Linked DNA regions of Homo sapiens: regions 1, 2, 3, 4, 5 and 6 are each linked to region 7. Evidence: promoter capture Hi-C in 16 types of primary human blood cells and fetal thymus (Javierre and others, 2016). All regions are on one chromosome and are shown on one strand. Each heading gives the region's core, a stretch centred on a gene start or on the middle of the fragment in contact. The rest is flanking DNA. Distances are from core to core; before and after follow the strand shown.

Region 1 (2,892 bases), core at 352-2,851, 2.3 Mb after region 7:
TGCTCCTATAACATAATACCATAGACTGGGTAATTTGTAAAGACAAGAAACATTTCTCACAGTTCTGGAGACTGGGAAGTTCAAGAGCATCGCACTAGTATCTGGTGGGGCCATTCCATGGCAGAAGGCATAGCAAAGTGAAGAAACATGTGCATGAGGCAGGGAGAGAAGTGTGCCAAACTCATCATTTTTACCAGGACTCCTGCAATAACCAACCCACTCCTGTGATAACACCATTAATCCCTTCATGAAGGCTCTGCCTCTTAAAGGCCCCACCCCTTAATATGGTTACTGTGACAATTGAATCTCATCATAAGTTTGGAGGGAACATTCAAACCATAGGAACCTAGGATGTGGTATTGCTCTGGAATGGTGGTCACCTTCAGGGGTGTTTACTTCATCTTTCCTACTATAAAGGCTCTTACTCCACAGGTCAAAAAACAAATGTGAGAGGGGGCTAGGGACATGATCACAGCATGGGTGCTGATAAACTTAGTTCTGGAGTCCATTTGTCATCTAGCCTCAGTAAGTCCTTATTTAACTGAGGGGGCCCATGATTGTGTTTTGGGTCTTGTAGCAGTGACAGCTCAGACTCTGTGATCAAGCCATCAGAAGATCTGAGTATTCCATTCCTCCAAATGCACAGGAACTCCAACAAATGGGTATGGGTCCCTTTGGGGAAGGGTTGGGAGAATCACTATGTTATATGCTTGCTGTGGCTTACAGGACTTCCTCTCCCTTAAGTGATTAAATCTGGGCCTGAGGTTCCAGACACCAGTCTGGGAACTGGGTATCAGACTGTGATCGTCCATTGTGGTAGCTGACATCATCAACATTTGGCTCTCTTGCTCCTGATCACTTTTGATTGTAAAGGTCAAGCAATATCCTTATCAACTGCACATCTAAGAGCTCTTAGGAACCATGGGATATATTAACCACAGTCTCAGATTCGTGCCTGTCAGGCCCCTGTTTGCCATGCTGCCTTTATGCCATTATAGTAGTCATGGCTGCCTTGCTGCCACCAAGCCTCCACTATTCTGGAATCCTATTTTGCTTCTTGGTACTAGGAATCCCAGTCCCATAATGATATCACTACCATCAATCCTGGCCTTCAGAATATAAACCACTTCGGAGTTTTTCCGTGAAGCCAGTACCCCCATCACCATCACATTCTTTACTGTTTTAATGAAGACTGTCTTCTTGGACTCTCTTGGAAACATTGTCAGCGAGCTGTGTTATTCTATGTCATTCTTTGGAGTAAGCTTATCTCCCTGAGCCAAAGCACAGTAGTAAATAAATCTTATCTAGTTTTTAAAAACATTTATTTATTTATTTATTAGAGACAAGTTCCTACCTTCTCCCAGGCTGGAGCACAGTGGTCCCATCATGGCTCACTGCAGCCTCAAATTCTTAGGCTCATGTGATCTTCCTTCCTCAGTCTCCTGAGTAGCTAGGACTACAGGCACAAGTCACCATGCCCAGCTAATATTTTAAATTCTTATTTTTTGTAGAGATGTGGTCTTGCTATGTTGCCAAGGCTGGTCTCGAATTCCTGGCCTCAAGCAATCCTTCTTCCTTGGCCTCCTAAAGTGTTGGGATTACAGGCATGAGCCACTGTGTCCAGCCAACCTTATCTCATTTATTTCAGGCCTTCTTTTCTCCAGATTTCAATGAGCCATTCCTACAGTTGTATTAGGACCAGCTCTAAGTGCCTTGCCAGGTCATTAAACTTTGACTCATGAGAGAGTACCCTTTTATCAACTCATTCTTTCTTATCCAGCCTTGTATATTACGTACCACCATTATCAGTCCAACACCATTCTCATGCGTGCTTTCCCAATTCCTGACATATATTTAGGCAGATCCTACAATTCTTTTGGTTAACAATCCCTTTTCTCCAAAATAAGGGACAGTATTTCCCAGGAGCATGGTGCCGATACTGAAGCTTAGTTATTTGTCTAGAAGCAGTGAAGGGAGACAGGTTCTGAAGAGGCAAGCACCCTCTTGCAATGCAAGGCTGTGCACAGTTTCCAGGCAAAGGGAGCTGCTATCCTTCAGTAAGAGGGGGAGAAAGCGACTCCTGCCAACTCTCTGGGGGGTCATGGGAATCTAGGGGTTCAAGGTGTGCCATTTCATAGGCAAAGATGTCCCCATCCCATCTCAGGGTCTTACTCTCTCCCCACAAAGGCCTTGACTTTAATGAAGGATATCTGCCAGGGCTGGGAATAGAGACCAAAGTTTCTTGATTATTCTGCTGTGATCATAATGAACATGCTGTGCTTGTAGGATTTTCGCACAGTCTGCCCTCTGGCTGCAGGGGGTGAGGGGCTCCTTCAATGTTGAGGGCCATTGAGGTCTTCTGACTTCACACTACACCCGAGTTGATAGTTGGTAGTTGATCTGATCCTGTTGTTTTCTTCCCTTAGCACATGATGGTAGTGGAAAGCAACAGCTAATTCCACATTCCTTATGATTACCATTTTATGACATCTCTCAGTTGCTATAATAGCGTGTAAGTCAGTGCATCTCTTTCTCTTTCTTCCATCATAGCTCACTTCATGCAAGAGTCGCAGTAATTGAAATGCCACAGCACACCAGAGGAAGGGAGGATGAGACGAGGGAGGGAAGCAGCCCATAAAGGACACATTACCAAGCAAGTTGTCACTGAGGGCAACTGGAGCTTAATCCTGCGGGGACCTTTGGCTGACAGTGTAGCAAATTTCTCAGAGTTAATTAATCAAAGACATGGGGAAGCTGAGGTGTCTATCCTTCATTCCTGCCAGTCATTGGTTGAGGGCACTCCCAGGAAGGATATTAATTCCTGACACTTCCAGGCTGCCCCGTGTGGGGGCAGAACAGGTATTGGAAGTCAGAGAAGGCTCTCAGGCAGTC
Region 2 (2,818 bases), core at 72-2,571, 2.2 Mb after region 7:
AGATTTGTCATTTTTTTGTATTGCTAAATAATACTCTATTATATGATGATGTTACAAGTTATTAATATATTGTTGTTGGACATTTGCATTGTTTACTGTTTTGAGTTACGAATTAAGCTTCTACAAACATGGGCACAAATCTTTGCATAGATGTATTTTCATTTTTCCTTTGGTAAATACCTAGGAATGGAATATCTTCTTTGGTGAGGCATTTGTTTAACTATTTTGCCAATTTTAAGATGTGGTTGTTTTTCTTATTTTTGAGTTTGTTGGATATAAAAAGCTCGAGGAATAAATGCTCGGTGCCGTGAAGTAAAACCAGCAGTCAGGCAAAAGTTTAATCCTGTCAGCAAGGCAATTGACTTCTGCAGAAGGGTGCCACTTGCATCAACTAAGATCGCAAGAGCACAGAGAACAAAGGAGACTGGGGGGTTTTTATATCCTTAACGCAATTCCTACTTCTGTGTCCCTCCCCCATGGGTAGGGTCAGACTGCACAATCTGAGCTGACCCTATTGGCTACTTGTACATATTTTTCTAAATATAAAAGGGGAGGGGGACGTGAGCTACAGAGGTGGAGCATGTGAGACGTGCAGTTTCAGGGACACAATGGGTGCAGGTAACCAAGGGAATAGATGTGAGTTATTGATTAGGGATGACAGAAAAGGGGTAGGCTGTTTTACAGTAACTAGGGACAAGGAGGAACAGGAAAGTTGAGTTTGAGAACAAAAGACAAGGAAGTTAGCAGGCTACATTTTTGAAGAGAAACTCAGAGAAATTCATTGTATCTTACAACTCCTCCCTTTTAAATTTTCTTATGATTTTTCTCTTCAAACTCTTTAACATGTCTTGGCTTTGCCGTTTGTTTTGATCTTCTAAAAGGAAAAGCTTACTTGAATAAGGTGGAGGAGAACTAAGGGAGGCTTTAGTAAGTGCTGTTTGTACAATCTTTTGTATTTGCCTATGGATGCATGGTATGACACATCACCTAACGAGTTCGTCTAGTACGATTGCAAGAGAAATAAGAATTGAGGCTATGTTTCCTTTATATTTACCAAACCACTTTCCTAGCCATTCTGAAATAGGGTCATTGACTTCAGAATTTTTAGTTAATGCATTGGATAAAGCAGTAAATCCCTGCAAGGCCTTTGTTATGCTTCCATTGGGAGCAGTGTTGTTTGGGATGAAGGTGCAATATTGGGTTTTAATTATAACACAAACCCTACCTTTTTTGGCTAATAACATGTCTAGAGCTATTCTGTTTTCCCAAGTCATTTGGCTAGTAGGCCTTAATTGGTCAGCTATTCCTTTGATAGCATCCTTGGTGTAATTAATAAACTGTTGCTGATTATAATAGATGTAATTTATCCAAGCCACATTTTTATTAATAGTTACCTGTGGAAATATGGATTTAAATTCTGCAGCTATTTGGTCATGGACTTTGAATCTGTTAGGCACTTCTTGTGGGACTCCAATGACGTCTATGTTAACTTGAGAGTCAAAAGATCCATAAGAGGCTTTTCTTCTTCTTTTTTTTTTTTTGGCGGGGGAGGTGTTGTGGTTTTTCTTTTTCTGGTTGATGAAATGTCAGGGTGAAAGGGATAGCCAATTAGACAAGAGTGTAAGTACCACTCCAGTTACCTGGCAGAGTGTCCAGTAAGTGTTCACCACAATACCACCATACATCTGTTTGAGGATGACTAAGGGCAGACTGATGAGTAAGCTCCTGGAAAGGCTTAAGCTCACGGCATCCCATTAAGCTTCCAAGGAATGCCAAATTCTCCCCCTGTGGTGACAGACACAAGGTGAAATTGACGGGAAAAGGAAGCTGAGTGGTCCTCGGGGGCTGACTCGCAGGGTGTTGGACTTCGGGATATAGCAGAGAGAGAGCCTGGCATGATTTGTTGCCCCAAGCCGTAGAATCCTGGAAGAGAGCTACCATGCAGCCCATGCCCGGTCGACTGGGAGACCATCCGAGTGGAAAGGGGACTCTCTGGGCCTCCAGCCGGCCATGCACACAAGCATAACAACTGCTTTTATTTAATGTACTTGGGAGGTGAGCATGCACAATGTGTTTAGGAAGCTGTATGCATGCCATCTGAGGCTTTCTTCCATTTTCCAGGGGAGTGCCCCTGGAAGGTCATACTCCACCATTTTGTCTCTTAATGTACATGCCCTGGAAGTTGCTTTTCCCTGGTCTCTGCATTCAATTAACCGTTTAGTGCCGCAGGTGTGGACCATAAGGAAATGGCCTCTCCCTGGTGTCAGCTGCCAATTTATCACTTTTAAAGAGGCAATGTAATAAGTGCCAAACCAACACCCGACATTCCTAGTGGGTGGGGGAAGAGCCCTCTCCTGCTGCACTCATGCCTGTCTAACTACATGTAACACACAGAACTTTTTCTTTTTTTTTTTTAAGCTCATCAGCTAATGCTAGTGCTTTTTATGTGTGGCTGAAGTTAGTGTTAGTCTTATGTTAGTGTTAGTGTTTTTTATGTGTGGGTTATTCCAATGTGGCCCAGGGAAGCCACAAGATTGGACAACCCTGTTTTTTACATACATGCCTTTGTCAGATACATGTATTGCAAGTACATCCCAATTTGTGGATTGCTCATTTTCTTAGTGGTGTTTTTTGAAGAGCAGAATTTCTTAGCTTTGATGAATGTCAATATATAAATTTGGTTTTTGGCTTTTGGTACGTAGACCCAAAATAAAATAGATATAAATATCCCCAAGAGCATAAATAATAGCAACATGTAGTAAAATAATTAAGAAGTTATGTATTTTGGATGTTTATTACCTTTGCTTTTATTTATTTT
Region 3 (2,824 bases), core at 138-2,637, 2.1 Mb after region 7:
ATTAAGGGAGTTTTGACTAAGTTCTTAAGCTATTTAAAGGGATTTGATAACTGCCCAACTCTCATACCACAATGGCATAATGGCATAGTTTTTTAAGACTGAGTAGTGACTACAGATTAAATTAATCTAGGAGATACTGTATTTCAAGTCTCTAGTCATAGTAAGTACTCTGCTATTTGGAAATTTTCCACATGATTGCTAGATTTAAACTAGGGAAGAATTACTGGCAACTTTAGGAGGGTAGAAAAACTCACCTAAAATACATCTGTTAATGCCAATGCTATCAAATTCTTAACTTTAAAGCATAGTATATTTCAGAAAAAGTTCTAAGATTCTCAAAACTATAATGCATCAATTGATAACTCAGCAACCAAGTGGTCAATGTTTTCTGCTTGATTGTGAAAAGCCAACTGCGTATCTAAGCCAGGGTGTTGTGGAGAATTGGAAGCCATGTATACAGAGGGGCACATAGGACCCTGCCTCAGGAGTTTCAGTCCAGCTAGGATATAAGGGAGAGCTACAAAGAATCAATACTCACTGGTGCATAGATGTTAACGACCTTTGAAAGGAGCAGTGTAGACTGTGATGTTTGATTTCTTGCATGTTTGTAACCATAAGGCTCAGAGCTTCTAGCCAGGCTTGAGATAAGAATGCCAAGGCAGTTCTACAAGCAGAAGGTAAGTCCAAAGGCTGGCACAGAAAGCCAGGAGTGAGGGGATGGGCTCAGGGCCTGGCAGTAGAAATGGGAAGATGGGAAGAAGGAATTAATTAAAGTAAGATTGGAGCCAGAATTGGTGGAATCCACAGAGCTTGATGACAGTTTAACTTGAGGAAGTAAAAAGGGGAGAATCAGAGTTGGGCCAGGCACAGTGGCTCACACCTATCATCCCAGCACTTTGGGAGGCTGAGACGGAAGGATAGCTTGGGCCCAGAAGTTTGAGACCACCCTGTGCAACCTAGCGAGACCCCATCTCCACAAAAATTTTAAAAAATTAGCTGGGCATGGTGGTACATACCTCTAGTCCCAGCTACTTGGGAGGCTGAGGCAAGAGGATTGCTTAAGCCTGGGAGTTTGAGGCTGCAATGAGCCATGATCACGCCACTGCACTCCAGCCTGGGAGACAGGGTGAGACCCTGTCTCAAAAAAAAAATTGGCCCCAAGAGAAGGATGAGATTGGACTTCATGGGACAGGGGAGTTGGAGCCAGGCCACAGTCCTTCCAGAAAGGTCTTGAAAATCTTGGCTTTGGAGGCCTTTCCAAAATAAATATGTAGGGTTTTAAAAATGAAATTTGGCTTAGAAATTTAAAAAGCTTTGCCTTCATTTTTGTGTCATTTGCATCTGTAACTTTATCCTACATTCATCTTCTCAACACCAAAACAACTAACAACAGTGGTATAATATTGCTGGGTGCCTTTTAAATTTTTTAACATTATCATTTTTCCTTATTAGTCAATCCTGTTAAGCTTTTGTATTCCTGGCATGTGGATTGAGATAGGGAAATTCTCCTTTTAACCTACTTGGTGATGGCCCAGCTTTCTCTTCTCAGGGCCTTTCCTAATTCTCTGGCTCATCTGAGGAATAACTCCTCTATCAGAGTGGGAATAACAGTCATGTTTGGAGAAGTGTCCTTGTTTACCCTCGCCTACCTCACTTTTGTGGTTGCTGTTGGTTCTTTATGGACCCAAGTCCAAAACAGATGTTTTCACATACATCTTACTTGCCATGCTTTAAACTGGATGACAGCAAGTCAGACTGCTGATCCCAGAAAGCCCTGCTGTGTGCAGTTGGAAAGGTCAGGTGGTTGAGGGCTGGTAGGAAGTCGGGTGGCGGCTGCAGGGAAGATGGGTTGCATGAGGCAAGAAGACAGGTGTGGTCATCTAAAGGTAAGACAATGAGGGTTTGAATGAGACAAGGCCTGTGAAACTGGGAAATCTCTAGGAAATGTTTACTAAGTGTCTACTGCAGGAACACAATATTTACATATGTTATCTCGTGTTATCCCGAAGAAAGCCATGGGTACTATAATGGGAGAATTCCCATTAAAAAAAAAATCTTCCTTGCTTTATTTCTCTGACAAAATGACAGGTATAGAAATGTCTGCAGGAAAAAAACATGCTGGTTACATGCTATCATTTTAGATGGGAAAAACAAAACTTGTGATTCTTTTCTTTTGTACCTTTACAATATTCTGTGATTTTTTAAACTTTTTTATTGATACATAATAATTGTATGTATTTATGGGGTACATGTGGTATTTTGATACATGAATAGAATGTATAATGATCAAATCAGGGTATTTAGAATATCTATTACCTCAAACATTTATCATTTGTGTTGCAGACATTTTAAATCTTCTCTTCTAGCTATTTTGAAATATACAGTAAGTTATTGTTAACTATAGTAACCCTACTGTGCTATCAAACACTAGAACATACTCCTTCTAACTATATTTCTATACCATTAACGAACCTCTCTTCATCCTCCTCCTCTACCTCCTCCCTTCTCAGCCTTTGATAACCATCATTCTACTCTTTTCTTACATAAGATCAGCTTTTTAGGCTCCCACATATGAGTGAGAGGCCAGGGGTGCTGCTAAGCATCCTACAACATACAACTCACCACAACAAAGAATTACTTGGCCTGAGAACCCTCAGCATCGTTGAGAGAAAACAAAAATGAAACTAAATTATACAGAGATCTACTTATAAATACCTACTTAAAGCCCAAAGTACCCATTTCCTAATTTTTAAAAATAGCATTTCTTCCTAGCATTTAAAAGAACTTCTGGGCCAGGTACGGTGGCTCACCCTGTAATCCCAGC
Region 4 (2,709 bases), core at 56-2,555, 2.2 Mb after region 7:
TGAAGTTGTTTTACGGTTAACTTTTGAAAATATACATAGGTAGAAAAAGTATACTCTAAAATAACAATAGGGCAGGTGCAATGGCTCACACCTGTAATAAGCACTTTGGGAGGCCGAGGTAGCTGGATCGCTTGAGCCCACAAGTTTGAAACCAGCCTGGACAACATGGCAAAATCCTGTCTCTACAAAAAATACAAAAAATTAGCCGGGTGTGTTGACCCGTGCCTGTAGTCCCAGCTACTTGGGAGGCTGAGGTGGGAGGATCACCAGAGCCCAGAAGGTCGAGGCTGCAGTGAGCCAAGATTGCACTACTCTACTCCACCCTGGGCAACAGAGTGAGACCTCATCTCAAAAAAAATAAAGATAAAATAAGGATAAATGTATCAGCAAGACAGTAGACCAGCATCACCACAGACACATAAGACATCATCATTGAGATCTATGACATCACTAGGTGGTAGGAATTTTCCAGCTCCATTATAATCTTATGAAGTCTATCATTGAACAAAATGTCTTTATGTGATCCAAGACTGTACTGTAATATTTTTGGATGATCCTTTCCTTGGCCTCAGGTCATTTCCTCACATGCATACAGTGATCAATACTTACCTGAAGAATCAGGAGAGATTCATTCCAGATCACTAGAATTCTCTCTCTATGCAGCTCTCTCCCTTCTAGCAAACTCTGGCTGCACTGGTTTCACCAGGCTCCAGGCTCTATCAACAGAGGGATTCCACTAGGCTGCATATGTTCCCCTCTCCCTGTACTATGGCTTAGAAATTCTCCCAAGGCAATAAACTGAGGCAATCATAGGACTCACTTTGTTTCCTATTGATCAAGGTTCACTGTCCTTCATTGCCTGATATCCAATATCTTGGAAAACATTGTTTTATATATTTTGTCCATTTTTTATTGTTTCTGGCCTGTATCAAACTTTTAACCATTACATGCCAGAACAAAAATTGATACATTCAAGGAAAAAACTGGATAGATTTGTTTTCCAACACTCTGAATCAAAAACTGAGTTATGCTTGGTGCCTGCAGAATAGGAAATATTGTAGCTTACTTCTCTGGAAATACTAAAGAATGATTATGAAATATCAAATGCATCGTGTTTTTTTTTTTTTTTTAATTCTCTAGCCCTATGTCATAATGATGTATCATTCTTTTGGAGGAAATAGGATTGTTCATTGCTAAGTGGCATGAATGTAGTACCGCTATTGGTACTTTTAATTCTTAACCCATAAAAACAAAGAAACAGAGTTAACACTGTACTGGGTATGTGAGAACTGCACTTGAGATCCCAAACTGAAATCAACTTATGAATACATAGCACACTCATCACTTTAAATAAAATGTCCCCCAATTTTTATTATATTGTATTTATTTGGGATTATTTCTCCATTTTACGTTTATATATTAGTGAAATTATATGTAATCATAACTTTTTTCCTTACAAAATTATTACTCATGAAACTTTCATTTTAATCATAAAACCTTCTTTTCTCCTTATCAACTCATTTCTATCATCTTAGAAGATTATCAACGTTATGGGATTTTTGGGTTTTTTTTTTTTTGAGACAGAGTCTCACTCTGTCGCCCAGGCTGGAGTGCAGTGACGCGATCTTGGCTCACTGCAAGCTCCGCCTCCCACGTTCACACTATTCTCCTGCCTCAGCCTCCCTAGTAGCTGGGACTACAGGCGCATGCCACCATGCCTGGCTAATTTTTTGTGTTTTTAGTAGAGACGGGGTTTCACCGTGTTAGCCAGGATGGTCTCGATCTCCTGACCTTGTGATCCGTCTGCCTCGGCCTCCCAAAGTGCTGGGATTACAGGCACGAGCCACCGCACCCAGTCGGTTATGGTTTTTAATGATAAATTAATTTGTCATATACCTACAATCATTGTTTGCACAAATTCCCATCAGTTCACTAGGAATCACGAAAAAAAAAGCAGTGGGCCTGCCACTACAAAACACTTTATGCATCAAAACAGATGAAGCAACTGTAAGGTATTTCTGTGATGTGTAACCAGGCTTGTAGAAGACTTTTCCACATCATTGATTTTTTATGTTAAGTCACATAATTTATAGAGGAAAGCTACCTCCCTCTAGTTTTCACTTCCTATATTTTGTTCCATAATTCATTTTCTTCAAATTAAGATTAATTTATACTTAACATTTATAAGACAAGTAGAAATTAATATGGGAAGCAAAATACTAGTATATAAAAATGAGGTGAATAAGTACCACAAATAAAAATTATTTAGGACTAAATGACCAACTACTACTATAGTATATAAAGATTTTCTTGCATTGTTCCTATCCTGGATTTACCAGCCTTCAGGCTTAGATCCTATCTAACCCCTCTAACTATTACTTTCAAATTCAAGTCTTAGCTACCACACAGGCAGTGCAAAAACAGAACCACTCAAGGAGTTGAACCTTCACTATGTCTTAACTTCTCGGTCACAAAACTCCTATTTTTTTTTTTTTTTTTTTTTTTTTTGAGGCAGAGTTTTGCTCTTGCTGCCCAAGTTGCAGTGCAATGGCGCCATCTCAGCTCACTGCAACCTCTGCCTCCCAGGTTCGAGCAATTCTCCTGCCTCAGCCTCCCAAGTAGCTGGTATTACTGGCACCTGACACCACACCCCATTAATTTTTTGTATTTTTAGTAGAAATGGGGTTTCACCATGTTAACCAAGCTGGT
Region 5 (2,700 bases), core at 89-2,588, 2.2 Mb after region 7:
AAATGAATGACTGTAGCTGTATTTCCATAAAACTTTATAAACACTGAAATTCAAATTTCATATAATTTTTCACATGTCACAAAATACTATTCTTCTTTTGATTTTTTCCAACTATTTAAAAATGTAAAAGTGATGCTTGGCTCTTAAGCCACACAAAAAACACAGGCAGGACATACTTGGTTAAATACATATTATAGATTTTTTTTTAAATCATAAGAAATGCCCCACAAGATTACAATAAAATCTATTGGTGGCTAATCTCTGCAAACACTATCATGTATCATTTTTTGGAAAAAAAAAAAAAGGCAAACTTAAAAATAGCCTTAGTAGAAGCAGGGTACAAAATCAAAAGAAACCATTAATGCTAAATATTTTTTATTATTATTATTATTATACTTTAAGTTTTAGGTACATGTGCACAACGTGCAGGTTTGTTACATATGTATACATGTGCCATGTTGGTGTGCTGCACCCATTAACCCGTCATCTAACATTAGGTATATCTCCCAATGCTATCCCTCCCCCTCCCCCCACCCCACAACAGGCCCCGGTGTGTGATGTTCCCCTTCCCACGTCCATGTTGTTCTCATTGTTCAATTCCCACTATGAGTGAGAACATGCGGTGTTTGGTTTTTTTGTCCTTGCGACAGTTTGCTGAGAATGATGGTTTCCAGCTTCTAGATATTATTTTTTTAATGGCAAAAAGTAAACACAGTCAGCCTCCGTGGGGATGCAGAAACCACAGATTCAACCAACTGTGGATTGAAAAAGGCTGGGCATGGTGGCTCACACCTGTAATCCCAGCACTTTGAGAGGCTGAGGTGAGTGGATTACCTGAGGTCAGGAGTTCGAGACCAGCCTGACCAACATGGTGAAACCCCATCTCTACTAAAAACACAAAAATTAGCAGGGAGTGGTGGTGTGCACCTGTAGTCCCAGCTACTCGGGAGGCTGAGACAGGAGAATCACTTGAACCCAGGAGGCAGAGGTTGCAGTGAGCCGAGATCATGCCACTGCACTCCAGCCTGGGCAACAAAGCAAGACTCCATCTCAAAAAAAAAAAAAAAAAAAAAGAAAGAAAATGTTGAAAAAAATAAAAATAAACAACAACAACAAAAAACAATATAACAACTACATACATAGCATTTTCACTGTATTATGTATTATAAGTAATCTAAAGATGATTTAAAGTGTATGGGAAGATATGTGTAAGTTACATGCAAATACTATGCTATTTTATCTGAGGGACTTGAGCATCTATGGAGTTTGGTATTCATGGGTGTCCTGAAAACAATCTCCCACAAAATAGGAGGATACCAAGGGAAGACTGTAATGCCCTAACATGAGTTAAGAAAAATAATATATTAAAAGACATACAGGGAATTTTGCATATATTCTCATTAGACTATTAGAAATTCTTTTAGATCTAATAACACATTAAGGTAAAGATTAGTTTCATGCCACAAACTGACAGTCAAATTAACTATAGTAACTATATAAAGAGACTCTAAATTACAGGTAGAATCTATATCCAGCTAACCTAGCACAGTAGTTAAAAGCACTGACTCTAGGGCAAGATTGCCTAGGTGTAAATCCATTCTACCAGCAAGTCATTACATTTCTTTGTACCTCAGTTTCTTCATCTGTAAAACAGGGCTAATAATATTAACTACTTCACAGAGTTCTTGTGAGAATTTTTTTGAGACAGGGTCTTGCTCTGACACCCAGGCTGCAGTGCAGTGGCATGATCATAGCTCACTGCAACCTCAAACTCCTGGGCTCAAGTGATCCTCCTGCTGGCCTCAGCCTTCCGAATAGCTGGAACTACAGGTGTGGTGTGCACCACACCCAGTTACTTTTTTATTTTTTAGAGACGGGGTCTCACTATGTTGGCCAAGCTGGTCTTAAAGTCCTGGCTTCAAGCGATCCTCCTGACTCAGCATCCTGAGTTGCTGAGATTATAGGCACAAGCCACTGCACCTGGCTACCTGTGATAATTTAATAAGTTAATATAAAGAACACAGAATATAAGCCCTACCTAGGCATCTGTAAGGCTTATTTAGTAGGCTTTTCTGTTATTAATTCTGTATTCAGACCAAAATAAAATATCATTAGAAAGGAATTGGTACAGCCATTATGGAAAACAGTATGGAAATTCCTCAAAAAATTAAAAATGTAATTTTCATAAGTTCCAGCAATCCCATTCCTGAGTATATGTTCAAAGTAAATAAAATTAGGATCTCTAAGAGATATCTGCACTCCCATGTTCAATGCAGCATTATTCATAATAGCCAAGATATGGAGCCAACCTGAGTGCTTGTCCACAAATGAGTAAAGAAAATGTGATATATACAATAAAATATTATTCAGTCATAAAAAAGGAAATCCTGTCATTTGCAACAACATAGATGAACCTGGAAGACAGCTAAGTGAAATAAGCCAGAGACAGAGAGATAAATAATGTATGATCTCACTATATATGGAATCTAAAGTAGAACTCACAGAAGCAGAGAATATGAAAGGTGGTTGTTGGGGCAGGGGATGGAGAAAATGGGGAGATGCTGAAAAAAGAACACTAACTTTCAGTTCTAAGATGAGTACGTTCTGGGGATATAAGGTACAGTATGGTGACTATAGCTAATAATACTGTATTATGTACTTGAAATTTGCTGAGAGTACATCCTCTGTGTCTTTACCACT
Region 6 (2,730 bases), core at 54-2,553, 2.0 Mb before region 7:
CAGTGGCTCATGCCTGTAATCCCAGCACTTTGGGAGACTGACGTGGGAGGATCCCTTAAACCCAGTTGGAAATCATCTTATGCAACATAACAAGACCTCATAGCTACTAAAATACAAACAAACAAACAAACAAAAAATTAGCCAGGCATGGCTAATTATGATTGGCATATGCCTGTAGTCCAAGCTACATGAGAGGCTAAGTCAAGAGAATCACTTGAACCCAGGAGTGTGAGACTACATTGAGCCATGATTGTGCCACTGCACTCCAGCTTGAGCAACAGAGCAAGCTTCTATTTCAAACAAATGAACAAAAACTGTGTATCAGAAGAAGGAGGCTGGGCACGGTGGCTCACGCCTGTAATCCCAGCACTTAGAGAGGCTGAGGATGGAGGATTGCTAGAGCATAGGAGTTCAAGACCAGCCTGGGCAACATGGGGAAATGCTGTCTCTACAAAAAAATGCAAAATTAGCCAGGCATAAAGGCATGCACCTGTTAGTCCCAGCTACTGGGGTGGGAGAATTGGTTGAGCCCAGGAAGTGGAGGTTGCAGTGAGTTGAGAACACGCCATTGTATTCCAGCCCCAGTGACAAAGTAAGACCCTGCCTCAAGAAGAAGAAGGAAGAAGAAAGACAAAAAGAAAGAGAAGGAGGAGGAGGAGGAGAAGGAGAAAGAAGGAGAAGAAGGAGAAGGAGAAGAAGAAGAAGAAGAAGAAGAAGAAGAAGAAGAAGAAGAAGAAGAAGAAGAAGAAGAAGAAGGGAAGAAGAAGAAGAAGAAGGAGAAGAAGAGGAAGAAGAAGAAGAAGAGAAGAAGAAGAAAAGGAGGAGGACACTTTATTGCATGTAAATTAAAAGTAAATTTACAGGAATTATTTATTATTTGCAGTGCATGCTCTTTATTCTTGAGCCAAAGAGACATAGCTTAACTAAAGCTAACTATGATCAGTGATGTCACATAATGGCAATTGTGACAGTGAGTTTGTGGCCCTTTATCCCTTATCACCCTTCCAATCACATCGCTGTGATTGAGTGCAGACTGCTTCCTTTGTTTGTTTTCATGCTCCCCCTTTGATTACTCTCTCTTTTCTGAGCTGTATTCTCCTTCCCTGTAAGTAAAGTACGACCTGTAAAACACAAGAGGAAATGGGAGCATAAAAATTTGCATAATGTAATGAAACTGCTGTATCATGAGCTTTCTTTCTTTGGTTATGTTCGAATGAAAACAAAGGTATACCTCTGAATCGGAGTTTGGAGTGTTAGCCCTGGAAACTGGAATGAATAAAATAGGCCAGTAAGGCTTGCGTGCCTTACAACTTTAATGCAGCCATGTGCTGTACTGTTTATGGGTAAAGCACCTGGCATCACAGTCCTTCCTGGACTGGCCTTTATCTCAGGTAAGTGAGGCCTTTCCTGTTGAATCTCTTCCAGGCAGGTGTGCAGGGAAAGATGATAGCCTGGCCCATGGCTGAATGATTACTTCTCATCCATGGAATTCATTTTCATATCTGGAATGCTGCATAATCTGGTGAATAAAGCACTAAACTGGAAATCCAGGATATACAGTTTGTGAGGACTTGCTGACTGCACTTATGTGATCATCTTAACAGCTTAATGCTTGAATTAACTCAATCAGTATCATGGTTGGTAATTTGTAGTAAAAATTCTGACAACTTATACATGGTTTAAATTTATAAAGTGCTTTTATGCAGTTTAACTCTTTTAATCTTCAGGTTCAGATGGGAAAAAAAAATTGGGGCTGCGCGCTGTGGCTCATGCCTGTAATAACAGCACTTTGGGAGGCCGAGGCGGGCAGATCATGAGGTCAGGAGATCAAGACCATCCTGGCTAACACGGTGAAACCCCGTCTCTACTAAAAAATACATAAAAATTAGCCGGGCGTGGTGGCGGGCGCCTGTAATCCCAGCTACTGAGGAGGAGGCTGAGGCAGGAGAATGGAGTGAACCCAGGAGGCGGAGCTTGCAGTGAGCCGAGATCGCGCCACTGCACTCCAGCCTGGGCGACAGAGCAAGACTCCGTCTCAAGAAAAAGAAAAAAAAAAAAAAAAACAACAAAAAAAACCTGGCTGAATGAGGTTCGGTGTCATGTTTCTTATAGGATAGTTACGTCGTCTTTCCCTTCATATTCATCCTGTGAAGACACTTTAAGTAACACAGCAGATTTGATCTTGGACCTTTCATGACCCTGAATCATAACATTCAAGACCTGACTTTCTCTTTTTCTTACTTAGTATTTTTTTTTTAAGATTATAGATGAAGGTAAAGGTCACTCAGCCTGTTAATTGCATCTTTAGAAAATTGGGCCATAAGCTTGTGAAATATGACTCCATGGAATTGGAATGTGTTGATGCTCACGACATGTATATAAGGGGATGAATTGTTTCATAGATATAGTGACAGGTGAGGGAGAATAAATAGAGGCTGTTTATGAGGTGCTTTGAATTCTTTAGGGTCAATAAAGTGATTACAAAGTCACATTGGTCAATGAGACATAAAAAGAAAGTAAAAATAAAATGGGGCACAATTACAGTTTGGGTGATGGGTTAAAGTCTAAGTTAGGCATATTTTAGTGGAAAAAATTAAAATGCTTGATTAATCTTAAAGCTAAATTAGAAATGTAGTTGTGAACTTCATGACCTTGAATATAAGTCATTTTTTTTTCAGTTATTTCTGTCTTTCTGTCCCCCAGTACTTATGGACAGTGAGTGGCCACATC
Region 7 (2,726 bases), core at 38-2,537:
GCAATATTCCCAGAAAGTGTTGGCGCCTTTGACAGAAGCATGGGAAAGAAGGCATCCGGGTAGAGGCTCTTCACTATTTGCTGGTGGAGGGATCATAGACCCCTCTGAGATCTTATGGACCCTCTCCCCAGAGCACGTACCGGGCAGTATTTACTCCATTTCAGGAGTTCCACAGCCTTGGGGTAGGAGCCCCTGCCTAGGAGATAATAAGACTGACGCTGCCTGATATTCTCACGCCCGCATTCATTCATTCGAACAGGGGATCCCTTTTGTCACGCAAGCAGCTCTACCCTCAGCATCCTACCCGTAACAGGAGCTCCATAAACACTTGTTGACTGACTGCTTGTATCGAGTGCTGAGCTGGAAACAGAGGTGATGAACAGGTATGATATTAAAATAGCAACTAGAGTGTACTGAGTGGACACTGTGCTCTAAAGGTTTTATGTGTATTTTCACATTTAATATGTATTTTCACATTTCTCCCTTTGCGGCGGCCCTTTTCAATACCCATCTTACAGATGAAGCTTAAACTGATTAGCAATTTGCCCTCCAATGACCCGACGACTAAGTGGCAGAGCCCCAATTCTCACCCGGGGAATACTGATTCCAGAGCTACGCTCCTGGGAGCTCACGATGCAGTAGAAGCATCAGAAACGGTAAAGGGGGTGGGAGGGGAGGAGTAAGTGTGACCCAGACTACAAGTAAGAGGAGCTAAGATGCCTTGGCAAATCCCTGCCAGTCCTGAGAGGCGGGAAGCTGAAAGGCTGGCCCGAGTCTTGCAGGAGTTCGCAATCCAGGCGGGGAGTTAGGAAGTGACTCTTTTTTAAGGGGGAGCTGGACAGCTCTCGTCGGCCTTCACCAAGCGCCCACTTCGTGTCCGGCCTCAGGCCACACAACCAGAAGGGCCCGGGCCTAGAAGCCCGAGGGCTCGGGGTAACGAGGCGACGCCGGGCGGCGGGGAGGAGGCCGGGGACCGCCGGGGTTCCTGCAGGCCTGGGACGGCGGGCCTGCTCGAGGACTGACCTTCCCGGAGGCGCCGTCCCCCAGCACGACGATTTTCAGTTGCCGGTCCTGGCTCTCCTCCTCAGAGTCCGACATGGTGTCCCGGGAACCAGGCCCGCCCCTCGAGGTGGGGGGGGAAGGGAAGGATGAAGGCTCCGGGGGCGGGGGAGAGGAGGAAGGGAGGTAGTTGCGGCAGGACCCCCGCCCCGGTGTCTCCGCGCCGGCAGGAGGTATTCGAGGAGAATCACTCGGCAAGCGCCATCTTGCCCACCTCCCCGCCCTCTGCGCGCGGCCCCGCCCCCTACGCGCACGTCGGGCGCGCGCCCCCGCCTCAGAGCCAACCCGCGCCGACCGGCGGCCCCGCCTGACGAGCCGAACCACTCGCGGCCCTGGACTGGTGTGGGGGACATTCCGGCGGGAGAGGCGAGGCGCTGCGTTTCCCTTCAGGAGACAGTTGGCTAGAAGAAGAAAAGAAGTGTTCGTTCAAATTAAGGAGAGAAAACGGGAGCAGAGCAGCTTTCAGGCGTTCCATCAAATTCCCTTTTCTCCTTCCCTCTTGAGAAAGTCTCTGAAGGGAATGGTTCAGCCTGACGGGGTGGAGCAGTGACGCCCGGGCTACGCGCCAGGGTTGCCTGGCAGCCAGGAGTTCGAGGACCGGCGGCGGGGCGGGGCCTGTCTCCGGGCACCCGGGACGCCCGTAGCCTGGCGGAGAGCGCCAGAGAGGGCCCCTGAAAAACCGGACCAGGGAAGAGGGTACCTCGGGGCGGATGAGGGGACAGCTGCTAAGGGCCGAGGCTGCTGGGAAGCCTCAGTAGCGGCCGTGAATACAGTGGAGCTCCGGCGCTGCTTATTTCGGCCTAACTCTTGGTTTCCTCATCTGAACAACCCCAGGCTCCCATGGTTCGTTCATCAGACGCTACTGATCGCCAACCTCCTGGCACCCCATCTTTACCCTAAGGCAGCAGTTCTCATAAAGTGTGGTCTAGGGACCTCTGGAAATCCCGATGACCTCAGAACAATTTTCATAATAATACGGACACCTTGTCTGTCTTTCTCACGTTCCTTCTCTCACTAGTATACCGTTTCCTGGAGGATACGCTTTGTGTACGACGTCATCACTGGCAGCTAAGGGAGCTTGCGTTTGTTGTTTTTAAACATTTCTCAGTTTTCATTTCAATGCAGTAGTGATAGGTGTAACCCACATAAACATAAGCTCTTTGGAGGTCACAGTAATTCTTTAACATTATAGAGAGGCCCTGAGTCCAAAAAATTTAAGAACTGCTGCCCTGGATAATCTCAGTCCAGGAGCGTTAGGTAAACGGCATAAATGAAATTTACAATTTAGTGAGGTAAATTCAAAAATAATAATGCTGTCCTGCTATGGTTGTTTCATTGTTAATCACTTAAAATTTATTGTTACCTTTACTACTATTAGGAATTATGAAGTATAATTATCCCCATTTTGCAGATGAAGTATCTTAAGTTAACAAAATGCTTAGCCCAGAGGCAGTAGTCTTGGAGACCATATGGGCATTAGAACAGGAAAGCAGAACAGTGTAAAGAAATGCCCAGACCTAGAGGCATCACTGGAGTTTAATCTCATGTTTACTAGATATGTGTCCTCGAGCCTCAGTTAGTTCACCTGTAGAACAGACTACTGCCTTTGTGTAGGTTTGAAAATTAAATGAAATAATCGGCATAAAGTAGATAGCACAATGCCTGGT

Evidence for each region. The method cuts DNA at HindIII sites, captures the fragments that hold promoters and counts their contacts. A CHiCAGO score of 5 or more calls a contact.
Region 1: a contact is called between a fragment that was not itself captured here and the fragment with the promoter of RAB28 in region 7, in 5 of 17 cell types (naive CD8 T cells, activated CD4 T cells, non-activated CD4 T cells and 2 more). The highest score is 10.4, in naive CD8 T cells.
Region 2: a contact is called between a fragment that was not itself captured here and the fragment with the promoter of RAB28 in region 7, in 5 of 17 cell types (total CD8 T cells, non-activated CD4 T cells, naive CD4 T cells and 2 more). The highest score is 9.4, in total CD8 T cells.
Region 3: a fragment that was not itself captured here is called in contact with the fragment with the promoter of RAB28 in region 7 in 1 of 17 cell types (naive CD4 T cells); the score reaches 6.7 in naive CD4 T cells.
Region 4: a fragment that was not itself captured here is called in contact with the fragment with the promoter of RAB28 in region 7 in 8 of 17 cell types (non-activated CD4 T cells, total CD4 T cells, naive B cells and 5 more); the score reaches 14.4 in non-activated CD4 T cells.
Region 5: a fragment that was not itself captured here is called in contact with the fragment with the promoter of RAB28 in region 7 in 9 of 17 cell types (naive CD8 T cells, naive CD4 T cells, total CD4 T cells and 6 more); the score reaches 18.2 in naive CD8 T cells.
Region 6: a fragment that was not itself captured here is called in contact with the fragment with the promoter of RAB28 in region 7 in 1 of 17 cell types (total CD4 T cells); the score reaches 8.9 in total CD4 T cells.

Annotation. Positions count from the first base shown.
Region 1 is chr4:15,746,351-15,749,242 of GRCh38, forward strand. It overlaps a transcript of BST1 not described here. Among named protein-coding and RNA genes, the nearest start is that of CD38, 31 kb to the right of the region's middle. The HindIII fragment of the contact is 683 bases long and covers 1,261-1,943 here.
Region 2 is chr4:15,693,674-15,696,491 of GRCh38, forward strand. No RefSeq gene overlaps it. Among named protein-coding and RNA genes, the nearest start is that of BST1, 8.0 kb to the right of the region's middle. RefSeq lists an enhancer at 1,462-2,058. The HindIII fragment of the contact is 872 bases long and covers 886-1,757 here.
Region 3 is chr4:15,544,969-15,547,792 of GRCh38, forward strand. The region is part of intron 17 of CC2D2A (coiled-coil and C2 domain containing 2A); the gene reads left to right. Among named protein-coding and RNA genes, the nearest start is that of CC2D2A, 76 kb to the left of the region's middle. The HindIII fragment of the contact is 154 bases long and covers 1,311-1,464 here.
Region 4 is chr4:15,673,091-15,675,799 of GRCh38, forward strand. It overlaps a transcript of FBXL5 not described here and a transcript of FAM200B not described here. Among named protein-coding and RNA genes, the nearest start is that of FAM200B, 7.4 kb to the right of the region's middle. The HindIII fragment of the contact is 8,677 bases long and covers 1-2,709 here.
Region 5 is chr4:15,646,171-15,648,870 of GRCh38, forward strand. The region is part of intron 1 of FBXL5 (F-box and leucine rich repeat protein 5); the gene reads right to left. It also overlaps a transcript of FAM200B not described here. Among named protein-coding and RNA genes, the nearest start is that of FBXL5, 7.8 kb to the right of the region's middle. RefSeq lists silencers at 994-1,219, 2,488-2,587. The HindIII fragment of the contact is 8,302 bases long and covers 1-2,700 here.
Region 6 is chr4:11,454,260-11,456,989 of GRCh38, forward strand. No RefSeq gene overlaps it. Among named protein-coding and RNA genes, the nearest start is that of HS3ST1, 27 kb to the left of the region's middle. The HindIII fragment of the contact is 2,037 bases long and covers 286-2,322 here.
Region 7 is chr4:13,483,053-13,485,778 of GRCh38, forward strand. RAB28 (RAB28, member RAS oncogene family) reads right to left here and starts at 1,288. Exons shown (of 7, transcript NM_001017979.3): 1 at 1,024-1,288. The coding sequence starts at 1,098. It overlaps LOC105374495 (a long non-coding RNA gene), which reads left to right and starts at 1,397. Exons shown (of 3, transcript XR_925413.1): 1 at 1,397-1,902. RefSeq lists silencers at 820-1,439, 1,433-1,727, 1,690-1,749 and enhancers at 1,173-1,467, 1,263-2,170, 1,430-1,549. The HindIII fragment of the contact is 2,971 bases long and covers 523-2,726 here.